Regions from separate parts of the Homo sapiens genome. Here regions 1, 2, 3, 4 and 5 are each linked to region 6. The links are contacts of gene promoters, found by promoter capture Hi-C in blood cells and fetal thymus (Javierre and others, 2016). All regions are on one chromosome and are shown on one strand. Each heading gives the region's core, a stretch centred on a gene start or on the middle of the fragment in contact. The rest is flanking DNA. Distances are from core to core; before and after follow the strand shown.

Region 1 (2,700 bases), core at 18-2,517, 1.5 Mb before region 6:
GGTGACATACATTAGAAATGTGTGAGAATTTTAACGAGAATGAAACACAAGTTAGAGCATGAGATAAAACCAATCAGGAATAATTTTAGTTCACAAAATGCATACAATGATACCCTAAGTGTCACTACTTATGGGTTTATAATTCATTTTAATAGTAAGACTAATAATAACAATAGTAAGACCGCTACAATTTATTTCTTACTTTATGCAAAACACTGAACTAAGTTTTTAAGACATCTTTTCAAATTCTTACCTCAACCCTATGAATATGTTCATTTTCTGGGTAAAGATGCTGAGGTTTAGAAAACTTTCCCAAACTAATACACAATAGTAATTGATTGTGGAAATTCAAACCAGGCTTATCTGAATCAAAAACCAAACCAATGTAACATAGACTCTCATTTAAATTAATTTGTATTAGTTTGCTATTCATCATATACAGATACTCAAAGACATTTTAATCACTATGCAGTTCCATGTAGCCTGAATGGAAGTGACCCATCTAACTTAGGTATATATACTCGTCACTGAAAAAGCAGTATTTTTCTCTACAATACAACAAACTTCATAGGTACTACAGATCAGTGTAGAGGACTTTATGCTTGCTAAAATCTTAGTCCTTAATAATTTCTTATCGATCTTCTAGCTGGTTTCAATGAAGAACAAATCAGTTTGCTAGGGTGAAATAGTAAGCTGGCTTTTAAATTGATTCTGCTTGTTGATTTTCCTTAGGGTAACTATTGCTGCCTTCTGGAGGTATTTGGTTTTAAAGAATGCATTAATCTAAATTTTTTTGTCTTTCTTTGTGAATATACCATATGATATCACGTTTATTAAGGAAAGGGAAAAAAGAAAGAGAGAGACTTGGTAGTAAGTTAAAATGTCCCATCCCGCTGGGCACTTGTGCCTCAATGCTCTAGCAATATTTTCTCACAAGGGTCCTTGAAAGGTGTTACTCATAACACTTCAATATAAAAAAATCCACACTTTTTAATTTTAATAGTTAAGAATTTTTTACATAAATATAAAGTTAACATATTAAACTACTTTATTTCATTCACTGAATAAATATTTCTTGAATACTTGTTGTAATACCAGCCATGGTGATCAGTAATCAGGCTATGGTCATGAATAAAAGACGGCAACCTCACTTATCTTTGAGCTTATATAATGGACATAATTATTTATATCAATGTTGAAGTTGGTAGCATCAACTTAACCCAACCTTCACCTTAAGGACTATAAGGTATGATGTTCAAGTGCTACTCAGATGTGGCAAAACTCGTAAGTATTCAAACGGCTGCAAGGAGCCTGCTCTGAGACTAGAAGATTATACAGTGCTAGTAGAGGCATTATTTTGCCCATTCTCCTCATTCCCTTGGGGTTTGACACCTGTTTGTCAGAGGTTACACACACAGACTTACTGCTTCCTTGGTAAACATATGCTTTTCCTTTGCAATAGGAAGACTATGAAGAAAATGACACAGAGGCCTGAAACCACTTTAGAGATCATTAGATAGCCACGAATATAATTCTCTCAAAATGGTCTGCTTGCCTGAGGATCCTCTAGACTTTTTCTGAAACTAGAATTCACATGTTTGTTCTACTCTAAAATTTTCTTGACTTCTCATAGCCTTCAAACGCCAATTACATTGTCCAAGTTCCAAACCATCCCGCTGTTGTTTACTGAAACCTATCAACCCAGTATCTTACATATAAGTCCCTAGAAACCCCTGCCTCCTCCCAGACTCCAGGATCACTCTTCAAAGGTCTCAAATTCAAATGATTGTATGCAAGAGAGGCAAGTTTCTGTCATCAAATATTGCAACAGTCATAAGCAAGGTAGAGATTGAAAAACTGGAAGATGAGGAGAGGGTAGCCTGCAATACAAACTTCAACATGAGGGTATGAAGTTTGCCGGGGAAAGACACAAGGGTAGGGATGTTATGAAGCTAAAAAATAAGATTAAGATTATCTAGTTCTGGAAAACGTAATTCATATCAAATATTGTTGGGTGGAATCTTTGAAAGAAGTTTACATCATTTTTATTTGAATGTGTAGACTCTTTTCAAATAAATATATGGACTTTGTAAAATACACCACTGAAGAACTTCATCAGAGTGGTTTAGAAAGGAAAGTAAGACAAGTCAAGACATAAAAATGAAGAAAAATTAGTACAAGGAAATAGTAAGGCCAAAAATTGATTGGCCACCTTATTTTCTGATGACTTCTCATAGATTTTTCTTTCTGCTTTATCAATGCATCATTCACTAGATCTAAGAAGGTGAGATGGGATACAAACAATGAATAGTCAACTATGCAAATACTTGAGGGAGTATTTTAGATATCTGGGGAATTGTAAAGTTTCTGAGATAAAGTACACTTGATGTGTTGGGGAACCATACAGGTCATCACAAAGATGAGGTCAGGGAGAGAGGCAGGGGCCAGATTATGTAGGCACTGTGGAGTTTATATACAGGCACTGTGGAAAACATTTTACTTATCTATAAAAACCAAAGCCATAGGTGAAGTTTAAGAGTTTATGGATCTACTAAAGAGGATATTCATTACCCCTCCCTTAACTGATCAACACATTTATTAATAAGTGTGGGAAGAAGACCAAGAATCACCAAACATTTGATGAAAACTAACAGTATGAATAAAAGGAAATTAAATAAAATAGGTAAGTAAAGGAAAAGA
Region 2 (2,700 bases), core at 108-2,607, 1.5 Mb before region 6:
GTATGTAAGGATTACTGTACTATATTTGTCTGCTACCATGAAACTGAGGAAAACAGGGTTTACTGAAATGATCTGCAGTGTGGCTGATGAAATAAAATTTTAAAAATTTACCTTTAGAGGGACTTCTTTTGATGCTGTACCCATAGTGGGCAATGTATTTTCAGTACACAAGTATATGGAGGTTCTACCAGTGAGTAAGCTATTTGGAGGTGAGATAAGATGGAGCAGACATAGTGATTACACAGTGCCTTGCCCACTGTGTGGAAACACTGTGGTTATTGTGCCTAGGATCTTGATAATAATGAAGACGAAGACAATGGTAGTGATGACAACAATGACAAATAGAAAGGTCAAATTTTCATTTATCCATCAAAGTTTTGATTAACAGTTTATAAGTCCTCTTATCTTCCAGCAGCAAACTTAACAGCCTTTGTTTGATCAAGTGCACTTCCCATGTCATGGGCTATATGAAGGGAAGTAATTGTGCTTGTGTGTATGTGTTTCTAATAAGAACTACTTTACTCATAATTAGCTGTGAAGCAATCTGCTATAATACTGAGTGCAGTTTTTATTTAGCATGTGATATATTTAGTCTTGAATTGCAATTCTAATTCTGTCTTCTATTAGGCATGTGATGCTATACGTGTAACTTAATCTCTTCAAGCTTCATTTTATTATCTGAAATATATCAATAGGGCATGCTTAAGAGTTATTAAGCTTTAAGGGAATTGAGATATGTCCAGGGCTCATAGAGTGCCTGGAACATGGTTATGTGCAATAAATCATGGTTGTTGGTATTATTACATTGTTGATACTGCTATGTTTATTTTATAGATTGTGACAATCCTTCTCTCCAAAGTCACAAGATAGAAGGTGCATATAACTTGCCAATTTATCTTAGAACTTTTATGATGTCACTGAAGAATGTTTTGGGATAATTCCTTTAGATCAATCAAAAATCTCAATATATGGCACCTTATTAACTTTAGGCCACCACTTTTTCTTGAATGACATTATTGACACATATATTCTTTAAGACACTTTTGCAATTTTATTTCTTAAGTAATATGTTAACTAAGAGACCTTAAAATGATTCAGTGATTTAATCATAAATATATAATATATGCACATATGTGTAAATATGCATAGAGATACATGGATACATTTATAAATATATGCAAAATGGATAGACTGTACTTGAAATAATTTGCTAAGACAAAAATCTGTCTGACTTCTCTCAAAATCTCAATTGATTCTTTACTTGCATGTTGTACCCAGTACGTATGGACAGAGAACGGGAAAGGTCAGATCTTGAGAGAACGTTTCTGCGCCCTCTTGAGTTAGTATAACCTCTTATCATTAACTAGAATTTGGGTATCTCTCAAAATGTGGTGCTCAGCCTATCATCCATCAAAATCACTAGGAAGCCTAATAAAACTATAACTGCTTAAGACCCACCTTATCTAGAATTAAAGTCAGATTCTCTGACATTGGTGCCTAAGAATTTGCATTTTAATAAACTCCCAAGGGAGTTGCATACTTCCTTGGTTGAATGCATACTAAGGCTTAGGGAGCATTGATTTGTGTCTCAACTTCAGCCAAAGGGCCAAGGATTGATGTCCAGAGTTTGAAAAAGAGACGTTCTCAGTCATTGAACACCCAGGTGTGACTCACATGGCATTGAGGACTGAGTTTCAGGTTAGATGCCTCCTGGGGTTTATAAAGCCCAGGCAATATTTTTGTTAACTTTGTACAATTTGAGGTATTGTTGGATTCAGTTGAGCCAAAGTGGAATGAACTCATTCATGAAATCAAGGATTTCAAAAGCACCTTTCCTGAAAATACTCAGAAAATGTTACACTTAGTGTGATCCATTTGTTTATTCATTCATTTTTTATGAACATTTATTGCATAATTTTACTGTGTTAAAAGCTAAGAATATGAAGATTAATAATGGAGTCCCTGTCTTTAAAGAGTTCATTGTCTACTGGGGTAGAAAAGCTTATATTTTTAGAAGTGTCCACTTTTCAGTAGATACCAAATTAGGACATTTAATCTTCTCAAGAAACCTATTTTATTATTTTCATTTTACAGGTTAAAAAAAGGAAAGGTTAGGTAACTTGTTCTGATCTCACATATAATAAGTGATAAAAACCACATCATCTTATCCATTTTATTCATCTTATACTGTCTCCTCAGAAAATAGAAAATCAACTTTTTTTTGTCTGTCTATTTTTGAGATGGAGTCTTGCTCTGACACCCAGGGTGGAGTGCAGTGGCACGATCTTGGCTCATTGCAACCTCTGCCTCCTGGGCTTAAGCGATTCTCCTGCCTCAGCCTCCCGAGTAGCCGGGATTACAGGTGTACACCACCGTGCCTGGCTAATTTTTGTATTTTTAGCAGAGATGGGGTTTTGCCAAGTTGGCCAGGCTGGTCTGGAACTCCTGACCTCAAGTGATCTGCTGCCTCAGCCTCCCAAAGTGCTGGGATTACAGGTGTGAGCCACTGCGCCCAGCTTGAAAATTGAACATCAAACACACACATACATATTTTAAAAGGGATGTGCATTCTATTAGGAGCTTGAAATAAGCTATTAATTGTCACTGTTCAGCATGGTAGTTGAAACCAGCCTTCATCCCTGAAAGTAATTTGTGACATGGGTCTTGCTTAAAGGACATCACTATAGATTGAAGCATTAG
Region 3 (2,700 bases), core at 10-2,509, 1.4 Mb before region 6:
CTGCTAAAGTCTGAGATTGAATGAGCTAAGTTCTGAACATGCTAAATTCAATGCGCCTTCACTACTGAAGTTTGTCCTTCATTTGAAGCAGACTGTGATGAAGGTAAGTCAGATATAGACGTCCATCCTAGACTCAGTTCCACCACCAACTTCCCTGAAACTGCTTCTTCATCTTCAATTATTGTTCAACTAAAAGATTTGTATTTCACTCAGTTATTCATGCTTTCTCCTGGATAAACATTTTTTAGTACCTATTGTGTAGTAAACGCTGCTGCATGAGAACCATGAATAACATATGTTCAGGGAAAATCGTGGTTTTCAAATTGTGCTAGTTGTCAGAGGGAGTGTAGTATAATGTGGGTGCTGTATATGGAACCAGCAGAGTCTCAGAAAAGGCATCCTTCTCAGTAAGGCCATTTTTCACCTCTGAGTAAGCTGAGAATTAAATTTTACCTATGCTGAAAGCTCTGTCCAGGTAGATTTACAATAATTGCCCTTTGGTGCTTTGGGGGAACTCTCACTCTCAAAGAATCTTAATGGATACAAGAGGGTTTATTACTCAATTCTTGAGGCCACAGAAGTCAATTCCTTGAATTAACTTTTTGTCTAGTGCAGATAGTTAAAAAGTAAAATTCCCTTTTGGGGCTTAGAATGAGGAAACTTTAGACTGATTGTAAACCTTTAGGGGATCAAGAGGAGTCTATGTTATAATAGAAGCTTGTGGAATTCTGAAGATAAAGGAGAAGATTATGCTGATTTAGGATGTTTAAGAGACCCTTTAGGCATTTTCTTGTTTCAGTAGATGCGTGTTTAGTTTTTTCCTTTCTTTGCTGACTGCTCACAGTGACATTTTGGATGATCATGGGATGTGTATGTGGTAAAATAAAGGTGAGTACATTTCCAGCCTTGTAGAAAATAAAATAATAAAATGCCCATTATAGAAATTGTCATGCAGTAACCAAACCTGTGATATTCTGCTAGCTTTAGTTATGATTTATTATGTAGGAGGTTTCTATAAGCCTTAACTCTAGTTAAGCATTGCAATTAATGTTATGAGAAGGTTAAAACCACCTTATTGAGAATAGAAGATTAAAAGACGTTTTGCTCAAATAGGAAAGTTCATTTCTTAATTTGGGCCCACAAAGGCCTTCTCTTTTGCTTGTAATTTCCCTCAAAATTGGAGCTTCCTTTCAACAGAGGTTTTTGTTCAACCATAGAACATGAGGGTCTTTGATGGTTCCTGTTCAACTTTGTTTCTCCTAAGTTGCATGTCATTAATTTTTCTCCTTCTACCCCATGCTTTCTGCATGACCATGTTCATTGGTCTTACAGCCTCAACTCTCACCTCTGTGTTGATATGACATCCTGAGGCTACACATTCAGTCTTCTTAAGACAATGTCTTCCTCTTGGTTTTTCCACCCTGGGGCTCCTTGTCACCCTGTAGAGGTCATTTCAAATCTCTCTTTGGGGAAGTCTTCTTCAATCCTCACAGTCCAGCTAATGACTTATTTCTTTGTGCCTCCTCAGGCCTTTCCATGAAGCTCCTCGACACACAATTCAGGGCAAATCTCTCTCTCTTCCCCTAGATTGTGAGGACAGCAATCATCTGTTATTTATCTTCTCCTGCATAGTAGGCAGCAATGAATGATCATTCTTAAAGAATTGGCTGAAGAGTTCCAGTTTGGATGAAATGGTGGCACTGGCAAAGGCAAAACTCTAATTCTACACAAAACACATAAAAATGCTGGAGAAACTGATAAAAAATAGCTTTGGAGATTCCAAATAAGTACAAATGAAGAAGAAAGCTTAATTTTATGAGTTGGGCTGAAGTGGCTTATCAAGGGATTATGCCATGAGAAGCCCTTATTCTAGTACTTAAAATTTTAACCCCTGTGAAGGGAGAAGAGAAATAAGTTTGAGCTGGAGAAAAGGCAAGGAAACAGAACTGAGACCTCTTCCCAAAGTGGGGATCTTGGAAAGATTGCCTTTACTGAGCAGGCAAGCCTGCACCATGAGTTGTCATGGAGACTAACTTTACATTAGGTGCCCATGTAATTGCCCAACAGGTTCTTCCTGCCCACTGCACAGACCATGGTATTAAAATAAAGAAAGAATTTAATTGAGGCTAGGTTAGCTAGGCCATGAAGGAGACGGAGATTTTACTCACATCAATTTCCCGTAAGGCTCGCAGGTTAGGGGTTTTCAAGGATAGTTTTGTAGGCAGGGGACTAGGAAATGGGAAATGTTGATTGGTTGGGGATGAAATCATAGGGGTATGGTAAACAGTTCTTAAAATTCTTTCAGAATTTCTGTTAGTAACTGATAGGTTAGAAAATAATAAATATAAAGAAAATTTGAACAAAAAACATAATAATCTTTACCTACTAGAGACATATACACACACATAGATGAGCATGTACCTATAGAATATATTTACATATATGTAGGTACATATATGATACACATATATATCATATATACAACATAAATATGATACATATATATGTGTGTATACATAGTGAGCTGCACTAGAAAATTAGAAAATACATATTCTCAAAGAGCATGGCACATTTATAAAAATCATCTTCTATACTTCAAATCTTGGAAGTCTTAAATATGATGACAATGATATCTGAAAAAAGGGGTAACATTAGACATAGGTAGGACTATAACTCCAAAATATATTTAAATTTTTTAAA
Region 4 (2,700 bases), core at 137-2,636, 1.4 Mb before region 6:
TAGTTAATTCATTTTGATATCAAATATTCACAATTTGCTTCTTGTTTTGTGCTGAGGCACAGCAACAATTTTCACCACCTCCAACTTTTATTGAGAAGTTTCGCCTGCACTAGCTGCATGAAGAAGATGCCAGCTGGAGCCCAACAGCAGGGAAGACTCAACCAGCAGTGGTGGAGTGGGCAGCAGGTACTCCCTGAGGGTGGAAGGTGGGCCGGATGGAGGCTGGGTACTGCCTCACATGTGAAGGGTCACCCATGTGGCAGATCCAGGCCAGTTAGCCCAATGGTTCTCCACAGGGTATGATTTTGTCCCCCAGGGGACCTCTGGCAATGTCTTGAGACATTTTGGTTGTCTTAATGGAGGACAGGACAACTGGCATCTGGAGGAAGAGGCCAGAGATGTTACTAAACATTCTATAACACACAAGTCAGGCTCCACAACAGAGTTATCCACCTCCAATGTCAATAGCGCTGAGGTTAAGAAACCCTAGGTTAGACATACACATTTTCAATTATAGCAGGATGCAATTTAAATTCCTGGCATTGAACATAGAACTTTAGAAAATGTCCCTTCTCCATGTTCTAAAAGATTCTACATCCTGTGGTTTGAGGAACTCCCCCATCTTTTTTTTTTCCCACTCAGCCCTCCCTTTCTAAACTTCACCGCCCCACTCCACACCTCAAAGAGTGAAGGGGCTAGCTGACATATAACTAAAGCTCTGAAGTGGAAAGAAGGCAATATTTCAGATTGCAAAAAAGGACTTGAGATTAATATTATTAATGAACAATAGTTAAATAGTCTAGCACTTTTGTCAGAGACATATTGTGTGGCTTTGATCTTTTTATATACTTCATGAGTTCTTGATCCAAGTTCTCACCTTGCTTTCCATACATGGGTCTTTATGCAGGATTCATTCCCAGGGGAAGTAGATCTCTGGAGGGCAGAATTCACAGGTCAGGGAGTAGTGATCGTCATGAGCTAAACAGTAAAAGTTCCCTTCGTCTTTCCTCCTTTGATGTACACAGCATTTTTGTCACCCTAGTTCCCTGTCAATTTTGTTATTTTGTCATTTTATTCTTTGAAAATTTTAAAGGTTAAAGCTTATGTTAAAGAACATGAAGTGCATGTTATGATTTTAAATTTAAGACTTTAGGAAAATTAGGTCATCCTGAGAGGTCTGCAAAAGAGCAAATCGTTCAGACGTTTGCATCTGCTCATTTTGAAATATACACACACACAATCTGATACCTTCTCCTTGACAAGTGATGTTCCAAATCAGCAGAAATTCTGCCAAGTAATTCATGGGACAGAGCAGAAGGAGAATATGAGTCATTAAAATATAGGCATAAACTTTAGTCAGACAAACTGATGGGATTGCTGCCAAAGAAAAAAATCTTGCAGTTGGGCCACCCTCGTAGATTTCTCCAACAAACTCAGACAGATAGTGCTGTGTTTAGTGACTAGATTCTATGGCTCTGAATTATAGCACCTATCATTTCATTGTTTCAGAGGAGAACTATTTGAGTGAAAATATTATTTCAATGCAAATAATAGAAGGATAAAGAAAGTGGCACTCATTTCTCTGAAAGTTTTTACCTTGTGTACTGGAAATAAGAAAAGGAGGCATTGAATCTACTTGGGAATCTGAGTCGAGATTCTTAAATCAGGATTTTTAAGCTTTATCATCCATAAAAACCACCTAGACCACATATTAAAGGTGCATATTCCTCCTATGGATTCTGATACAACAGGCATTTTTCACAGGCTCTAAAGGGGTTAATGGTATGTGGATTCCACTTTATAAAAAGGCTGTCAAGTAGGCCAAGGCTGTTGGGCATTGGGAAAATAAGTGGGCATATGATAAAGGCTCAATAAATATTTGTTGAATGAATTCTCTCTAGGTCTTAGAAACATATTATTTTTATTTTTCTTTCATGTGAGCAGATTGCCAACAGGCTTATTTGGGTTTATATTGTTTCAGAGAAACTCAAATTTTCCCCATTTATTTATTGTCTGCTTGTGTTATATGAATTTTAGTTGCTGCTGGCAGAAAACTCAAGTTACATTAACTCTCCCCTTTCTAGTAATTTGGTGATCTGGGGCACTTCTTTTGATCTCCTTTGGCCTTTAAAATTTTAACCTCCTTTGACCTTTAAAGTTTTAAAATTTCTAATCTGGGAAGGTTAATAATTACTTTTCAAAATATCATATAGCACTGAAAAGAAAAAAAAGTACATGAAAAAATGCAGTATGAAGTTCTATACCAATGTTATTTGTTTTGTGTTTTTTAGAAATAAATTGTAAACTGGAACTCAGAATTAAATAATAATAGCAGTGGGGATGAAGTCCTTCTAATCCTTTACTCTAGGAAAATGTTTTCCTTAATGACTGGGAGACAGCTGGGTTCAAAGTGAATGCAAGTTAAATGTCAGTCAATGAGTTGAAGTTGTTCCTTTCCCACCTCATTTTGCTTTGTTGTTTCAAGAATCAGCATTACTGAGGCATTGGTTACTTTCATGTTAGCTCAACTCTAAAGATAGAGGTTGTGCAGGCTCTACTGAGGTCAGTTAACCTCTAACAAGAGAATGGACGGTTTGTTGGATGGAAAAGGCTTGTTAAGACAGTCAGACCACTTCTGAGCCTCCCTATCCCAAAAAGCCCCTATTACAATGCATGCATGTTCACTCACACACACAGGTA
Region 5 (2,700 bases), core at 67-2,566, 1.0 Mb before region 6:
CGAAATTTAAAAGAAAATAGCACTTCATGAAAGGCATGAAACATGAAATTAAGCTCTCAGTGTCCATAAATAAAGTGTTTTTAGAACACAGTCATGGTCAATCATTTGCATATTGCCTATTGCTGCATTCACAAAACAGTGGCGGAGTTGAATAGTTACAACAAAGACTGTATGACCTGCAAAGCCTAACATGTTTACTAGCTGATCCTTTACAAAGAAAGTTAAGATTATGTCTGTTTTCTGAAACAGTTCCACTGATAACAGCACATATATTTATGGACCATTAAGTTGTGATTAAATATGATTGCTATAAATCAAGCCTTGAAATACCATCTGTCTATTCTTCTAAGAATGATGACTTCAACAGCTCTTTGGCACAATAGACAGTGATTTATTTTAACTCTTTTTTGAGTTTTTTGAGATGGGGTCTCACTCAGTTGCCCAGCACGGAGTGCAGTGGCATGATCTTGGCTCACTGCAACATCCACCTCCCAGGTTCAAGCAATTCTCATGCCTCAGCCTCCCCCGTAGCTAGGATTACATGTGTATGTCATCACATCTGGCTAATTTTTGTATTTTTAGTAGAGACAGGGTTTCACCATGTTGGCCAGCCTGGTCTTGAACTCCTGACCTCAAGTGATCCACGCACCTCAGCCTCCCAAAGTGCTGGGATTACAGGCATGAGCCACTGTGCCGGGCCTTCTAATTCTTTTATTCAGTTTCCCTTTGACCAGCCAAATACTTATTTTCAAAACAGGAAAAACTATGAAATATTCCCTTGGGTATGTACTGACTTACCTGTTGATATGTATTTTGCTGAGAATAGATACCAGAATTTAATATATACCAAAACTGGCACTCCAAAGAAGTGTTTATTTATTTTACTTAATTTCTCCCTTGAAACACACCTAATAAAAATGTTCCTGATAAATTTCCCAAATACATACTGTTAGAATGTCAATAAAAGCTTCAGTACAGTAGTATAGTTGTTTCTTCAAAATGAGAAATATACAGTATTTATTCAGCTATTTATTCAATCACTTGCAAGAAAATAATCTCAAACTGAAAGAAAAAGATAATTTATTGGCACATATGATTGAGAAATCCCTGTTTTAAAATGATGCCAATTACAACGAATTTTCTCTCCTTCTTTTGGTTTAGCTTGTCTCTACCCATCTCTCTGTGGTGTTGTCTACCTCTTTAGGCTACATGTGATGGGAAGAAGCTAGCAGTAGCTTTCTATATTCATTCTCTGAAATTTAAGTCCAACAGAATAAGAGAGCATCCATTCCCAGTACATACAGCACAGAAACACAGATTCACTATGATTAGAACCACGTGGGAGACATGAGACTACAAGGGGGATTGGGAATTCTCATTGGCCAAGCCTGGGTGCTATGCCCCACCCTGGCCATCACTGCCATCCCAGCCAATAACTGGCTAAAAAAAATGAGAAGAATGGGTTCCCAAAGGAAAGTTGAGGGTTTTTGTTGTTGTTGTTGTTGTTTGTTTGTTTGTTTGTTTGTTTTTGTCAGAATAAGGAAGAAGAAATGTAAGACCAGGAAATTTACTATTTGAATTAAATTATTCTTAACCACATTTAGAACTTTCACCAAATACTGTTCATGATTTTTCTACTGCTAATTCATTTTTATTTTTCACAAAGAAAGCTTTAAAATATTATACATTAGGTGAGGCTGAGAGAAGAGAAACTAAAAGAAGTTTGGTGGAAGCTTTTGACCATGTTTCATGTATGCCTATCCCTTAACCACCTTCAACATGAGGCCAGTCCATGGCAAACAATTGTTAATCATCTGTGTACTGCATTTTGCCACCAGTCACCCTCCAACATGCCTCTGCAACACAACACCAGGCCATCAGAATGCTGCGTGATGGGCTCTCAAAGGGGAATGGTGGCCACAGGATTGGCCTTCCATAAGCTGATCCCAGAAAAGGAGTTTAATGAGCTCTAAGATCAACCTAGGCCCAGTTGATTGACTTATGGTAAAATTCAGTTTGCATCTGCTCTTTGGGGTCTCTTTAATTGTCATGATCCTTTTTTCCCTAGAGTTCCCTTTGTCTAAGCAAAACAACAACACAAGAGAACCTTTTCTTTATTTCGGACTTAAGTAACATTCATGCTCTGGTCCTCTGTCCCAACTTGGTGTTCTGTATCTTTCCTATCATTCCAGCTATGGACATCTATTTTTTTTTAATAATTTCTACTTTTATTTTAGATTCAAGTGGTACATGTGCAGGTTTGTTATCTGGATATATTACATAATGCTGAGGTTTGGGGCACAATTAATCCCATTACCCATGTACTGAGCATAGCACCCAATGGTTAGTTTTTCAACCTTTGTCCCCCTCCCAATCTCTCCTCTCTAGTAGTCCCCAGTTTCTTTTGTTGCCATCTTTAGGACATCATTTAAAAAAAAAAAAAAAAGCTTTGAGAATACAATTTGTATATTTGGGTCTGAAATATCATTTTAGTAGAAAAAATATGAAATAAGTTACTATAAGTATGTCCATATTTTTAAAAGGCTAAAAATACCTTGACTCACAGATTGGGCCAACTATCTCTTTTTAAAAATAATAATAGGCCAAGAAACAGCATATTATTATTTTTATCAAAGACCTTAGCATTTTATTTAAGATAAAAAAGAATATATTTTTTTAACACTTTGTGGTGTAAAAGAA
Region 6 (2,700 bases), core at 93-2,592:
AAGACAGAAAGAAGACTGTAAGATTCATGCTATAGTCAAAATAAAAAGAATGGGAGGAGTGTCTTCATTCACTGTTAGGGTTTTGCCTACCTGCATGGCTACAAAGTTCTAAGATACCAATAGATCCCAAATTTAACTGCAAGCAAGTGGTTCCCTAAAATCAGTGACCAACTGCATGATCATACTTGGTGTCTGAAGCCAATTGCAGCAAATATCAGCAACACTGTTCCAAAGCAAAGATTCTTAACCTGAGGATGGAATTCAGGTGATCTGTATAGGAAACTCACATAGGAAAATAAGTTGCATCTTTACTTTTAGTAACATGTCACAGAAGTTCAACATGTCCTTCCCTTATGAGCACAGGCAACAGAGCACAGTAGTATTGGCAGTTCTTGATAATTTGCACCCACCGGTATTTTCATGTCACATTTCAGTTTGGGCTATTATCTCAAAATACCATTTGCAGACATCACTACTTTGACATTACTGTTGCTTAATCGGCCTGCTGTTAAATCAAGCTATTTAATGCAATAATGATGATGCACCTGTGTTAGTTACTATATCACGACTTGAGGACTTCCATAATTGCATTCCAATAAAACTGATTCTGATTTAATTGTATTTTATGCATTTCACAACATTCTTCTGAGAAACAGTCTAATTGCTTTACCAGAGCCAGTGTGGTCCGTAGCACAGGAAACGGCGAGAGCCGGCTGGAGGACCGTGCCCTGGCACATTTGCATCGCAGGCCACCCCCAGGAAGAGCGCACCCTGACCAGAGCTGAGTCTTGTTTTGCCCTGCATTTCCGCAGATAAGATTTGGCCTGAAAAGCAGTTCAACTCAGCGGAGAATAAGATGGGCTTTCTCTTTCTCCTCAGCTGCCTCTTTCTCTTGGCATTTTGGAGTGCCCCGACTGCCAGGCCGGTAACTCGAGCCTCCAAATTAATCAAAACACACAGCACCCAGTTAAAGCCCAGGCAGACAAGCCCAGGAGCCAGACGCGCTCTCCTCTGGTGACCCCCGGGCCACAACTCCCCAGCTGGGCCCGCCACCACCCCTTGAATGCCACGCTCCCTCCACTGCCCCTCCCAGGCAGGTGCCGGGGCCCCGGGACAGCGGTTGCCCCACCTATGGGCGCCTTACCTGTGGGGACGCCCGCAGCGCCAGGAGCTGCCGCCTTGCCACCCCACGGGACGCGCACCTCCAGCCCCAATCCACCCGCGCCCCGCTGCCTCTTCGCGGCGCTCTCGCAGCCAAGCCCGGCGGCCGCAAGTTGGAGGCGGGCTGGAGGCGGGGAACGCGGACCGCCGCGGGCGCGGGGAACAAGCGGGGCCTCCCGAGTGCAGACGCCCGGCGCGCCTCCCGCTTAATCTGGGCAGGGCCGCTGGCCACTCCCTCCACCCTGCGCAGCCACCTCCCCACCGCGCAGCCACCTCCCCACCGCACACCCCCAAACGCCCCACCTCCGACCGCACCCCACTTCCCCGCCTGGGCCCCCGGACCTTGGGAGCATCACCTCCTTAACCCCTTACCCTGGATCCGCGCCCACCTGCCCCTCAGGCGCCCAGCCCTTTCTCGCCTCCTGGGCACGATGCCCGGGTAGAAGGGACACTGCCTGGTAAGTTGGGAGGGAGGGGGTATGAGGGCGGGACCTGAGCCACGTCTTCCCTCCCTTGAAGCCACAACCAAAAAGCCTGGGTGGGGAGGGACGAACCGCGCGACCGAGCCCTACAAAACCCGCCCCGGCCGAGTGGCGAGGCGAGCTTTCCAGCCGGGCTCCCAGAGCCGCGCTGCGCAGGAGACGCGGTGGCCTGAGAGCCTGAGGGTCCCCGGACTCGCCCAGGCTCTGAGCGCGCGCCCACCATGAGCGCCCGGACCGCCCCCAGGCCGCAGGTGCTCCTGCTGCCGCTCCTGCTGGTGCTCCTGGCGGCGGCGCCCGCAGCCAGCAAGGTGAGTGGGGGCTGCGCGACCCCCACCCCCGCACTTCCATCCCTCCTCCACGCGTCCGGGGGACGCGCTGGCCCCACCCGCAGCGGCGCGGTAGTGGAGCGGCTGCCGGGCTAGTGGCGAGGCTGAGGGCTTCACGCAGGTCCCGGGACAGGCAGCGAGCGGAAGGGAGCAAGCGGGGATGCCCCGGAACAGGTGGAATGCGCGGGGCTGGGGGAAGAGGCGAGGAGGGGGCTTGTCCAGTGCCTAGGAGTCAGGGATGGCGGGGACAGGCCTCCAGAGGTCAGTAAATTAAAAAATAGACACATAGATAATCGCCAGGGATGATACGTGAGAACACCGGATGTGGAGATGCACGGTGTCACGCTGGTGAATCAAATCAAGCAGCTTGGCCCAGCGCACAGAGGGCTGGCAGGAGACACCTGCAGGGAGTCCCAGCCGCCACTTCCTAGCTGGGACGTCACACTAAACCCTGACCTCTCTGGGGCTCAGTTTCTTCCTTGCAAAACTTGCCCTCCAGTTTTCCTTTGCTATTGTTGGGAAAAGCAAATGCTATCACTGAAAAATTAAGAGCACCTTAGAAATCGAACTCAGGTTAGAATCATTTAAGCAATCTGACACTTTGATTTGATTTTTGACTTGGAATTTGAGTGAAACTGGATTTATTTAAATCCATCCCATATTTCTTATTCTTTGCCATTAAATAGAAATTGATTGTCCTCAAAACGATTGTGCCTCCTAGAGTTGACTCA

The links. Contacts are between HindIII fragments. The CHiCAGO score rates a contact against its expected background, and 5 or more counts as called.
Region 1: a contact is called between a fragment that was not itself captured here and the fragment with the promoter of COL4A4 in region 6, in 5 of 17 cell types (M2 macrophages, M1 macrophages, monocytes and 2 more). The highest score is 12.2, in M2 macrophages.
Region 2: a fragment that was not itself captured here is called in contact with the fragment with the promoter of COL4A4 in region 6 in 5 of 17 cell types (M0 macrophages, M1 macrophages, M2 macrophages and 2 more); the score reaches 13.2 in M0 macrophages.
Region 3: a contact is called between a fragment that was not itself captured here and the fragment with the promoter of COL4A4 in region 6, in 1 of 17 cell types (M0 macrophages). The highest score is 5.2, in M0 macrophages.
Region 4: a contact is called between a fragment that was not itself captured here and the fragment with the promoter of COL4A4 in region 6, in 4 of 17 cell types (M0 macrophages, monocytes, M2 macrophages and 1 more). The highest score is 6.1, in M0 macrophages.
Region 5: a contact is called between a fragment that was not itself captured here and the fragment with the promoter of COL4A4 in region 6, in 1 of 17 cell types (fetal thymus). The highest score is 6.4, in fetal thymus.

Annotation. Positions count from the first base shown.
Region 1 is chr2:225,706,503-225,709,202 of GRCh38, forward strand. The region is part of intron 5 of LOC105373914 (a long non-coding RNA gene); the gene reads right to left. Among named protein-coding and RNA genes, the nearest start is that of NYAP2, 310 kb to the left of the region's middle. The HindIII fragment of the contact is 2,983 bases long and covers 1-2,700 here.
Region 2 is chr2:225,686,524-225,689,223 of GRCh38, forward strand. The region is part of intron 7 of NYAP2 (neuronal tyrosine-phosphorylated phosphoinositide-3-kinase adaptor 2); the gene reads left to right. All of the region lies in intron 5 of LOC105373914 (a long non-coding RNA gene), which reads right to left. Among named protein-coding and RNA genes, the nearest start is that of NYAP2, 290 kb to the left of the region's middle. The HindIII fragment of the contact is 1,284 bases long and covers 716-1,999 here.
Region 3 is chr2:225,758,599-225,761,298 of GRCh38, forward strand. All of the region lies in intron 2 of LOC105373914 (a long non-coding RNA gene), which reads right to left. Among named protein-coding and RNA genes, the nearest start is that of NYAP2, 360 kb to the left of the region's middle. The HindIII fragment of the contact is 1,089 bases long and covers 716-1,804 here.
Region 4 is chr2:225,734,704-225,737,403 of GRCh38, forward strand. LOC105373914 (a long non-coding RNA gene) reads right to left here. Exons shown (of 7, transcript XR_007088110.1): 4 at 878-933. Among named protein-coding and RNA genes, the nearest start is that of NYAP2, 340 kb to the left of the region's middle. The HindIII fragment of the contact is 577 bases long and covers 1,099-1,675 here.
Region 5 is chr2:226,161,347-226,164,046 of GRCh38, forward strand. The region is part of intron 2 of LOC646736 (a long non-coding RNA gene); the gene reads left to right. Among named protein-coding and RNA genes, the nearest start is that of MIR5702, 500 kb to the right of the region's middle. The HindIII fragment of the contact is 703 bases long and covers 966-1,668 here.
Region 6 is chr2:227,162,863-227,165,562 of GRCh38, forward strand. It overlaps COL4A4 (collagen type IV alpha 4 chain), which reads right to left and starts at 1,343. Exons shown (of 48, transcript NM_000092.5): 1 at 1,145-1,343. It overlaps COL4A3 (collagen type IV alpha 3 chain), which reads left to right and starts at 1,762. Exons shown (of 52, transcript NM_000091.5): 1 at 1,762-1,951. The coding sequence starts at 1,865. RefSeq lists enhancers at 670-1,571, 846-945 and silencers at 1,216-1,595, 1,816-1,995. The HindIII fragment of the contact is 7,891 bases long and covers 1-2,700 here.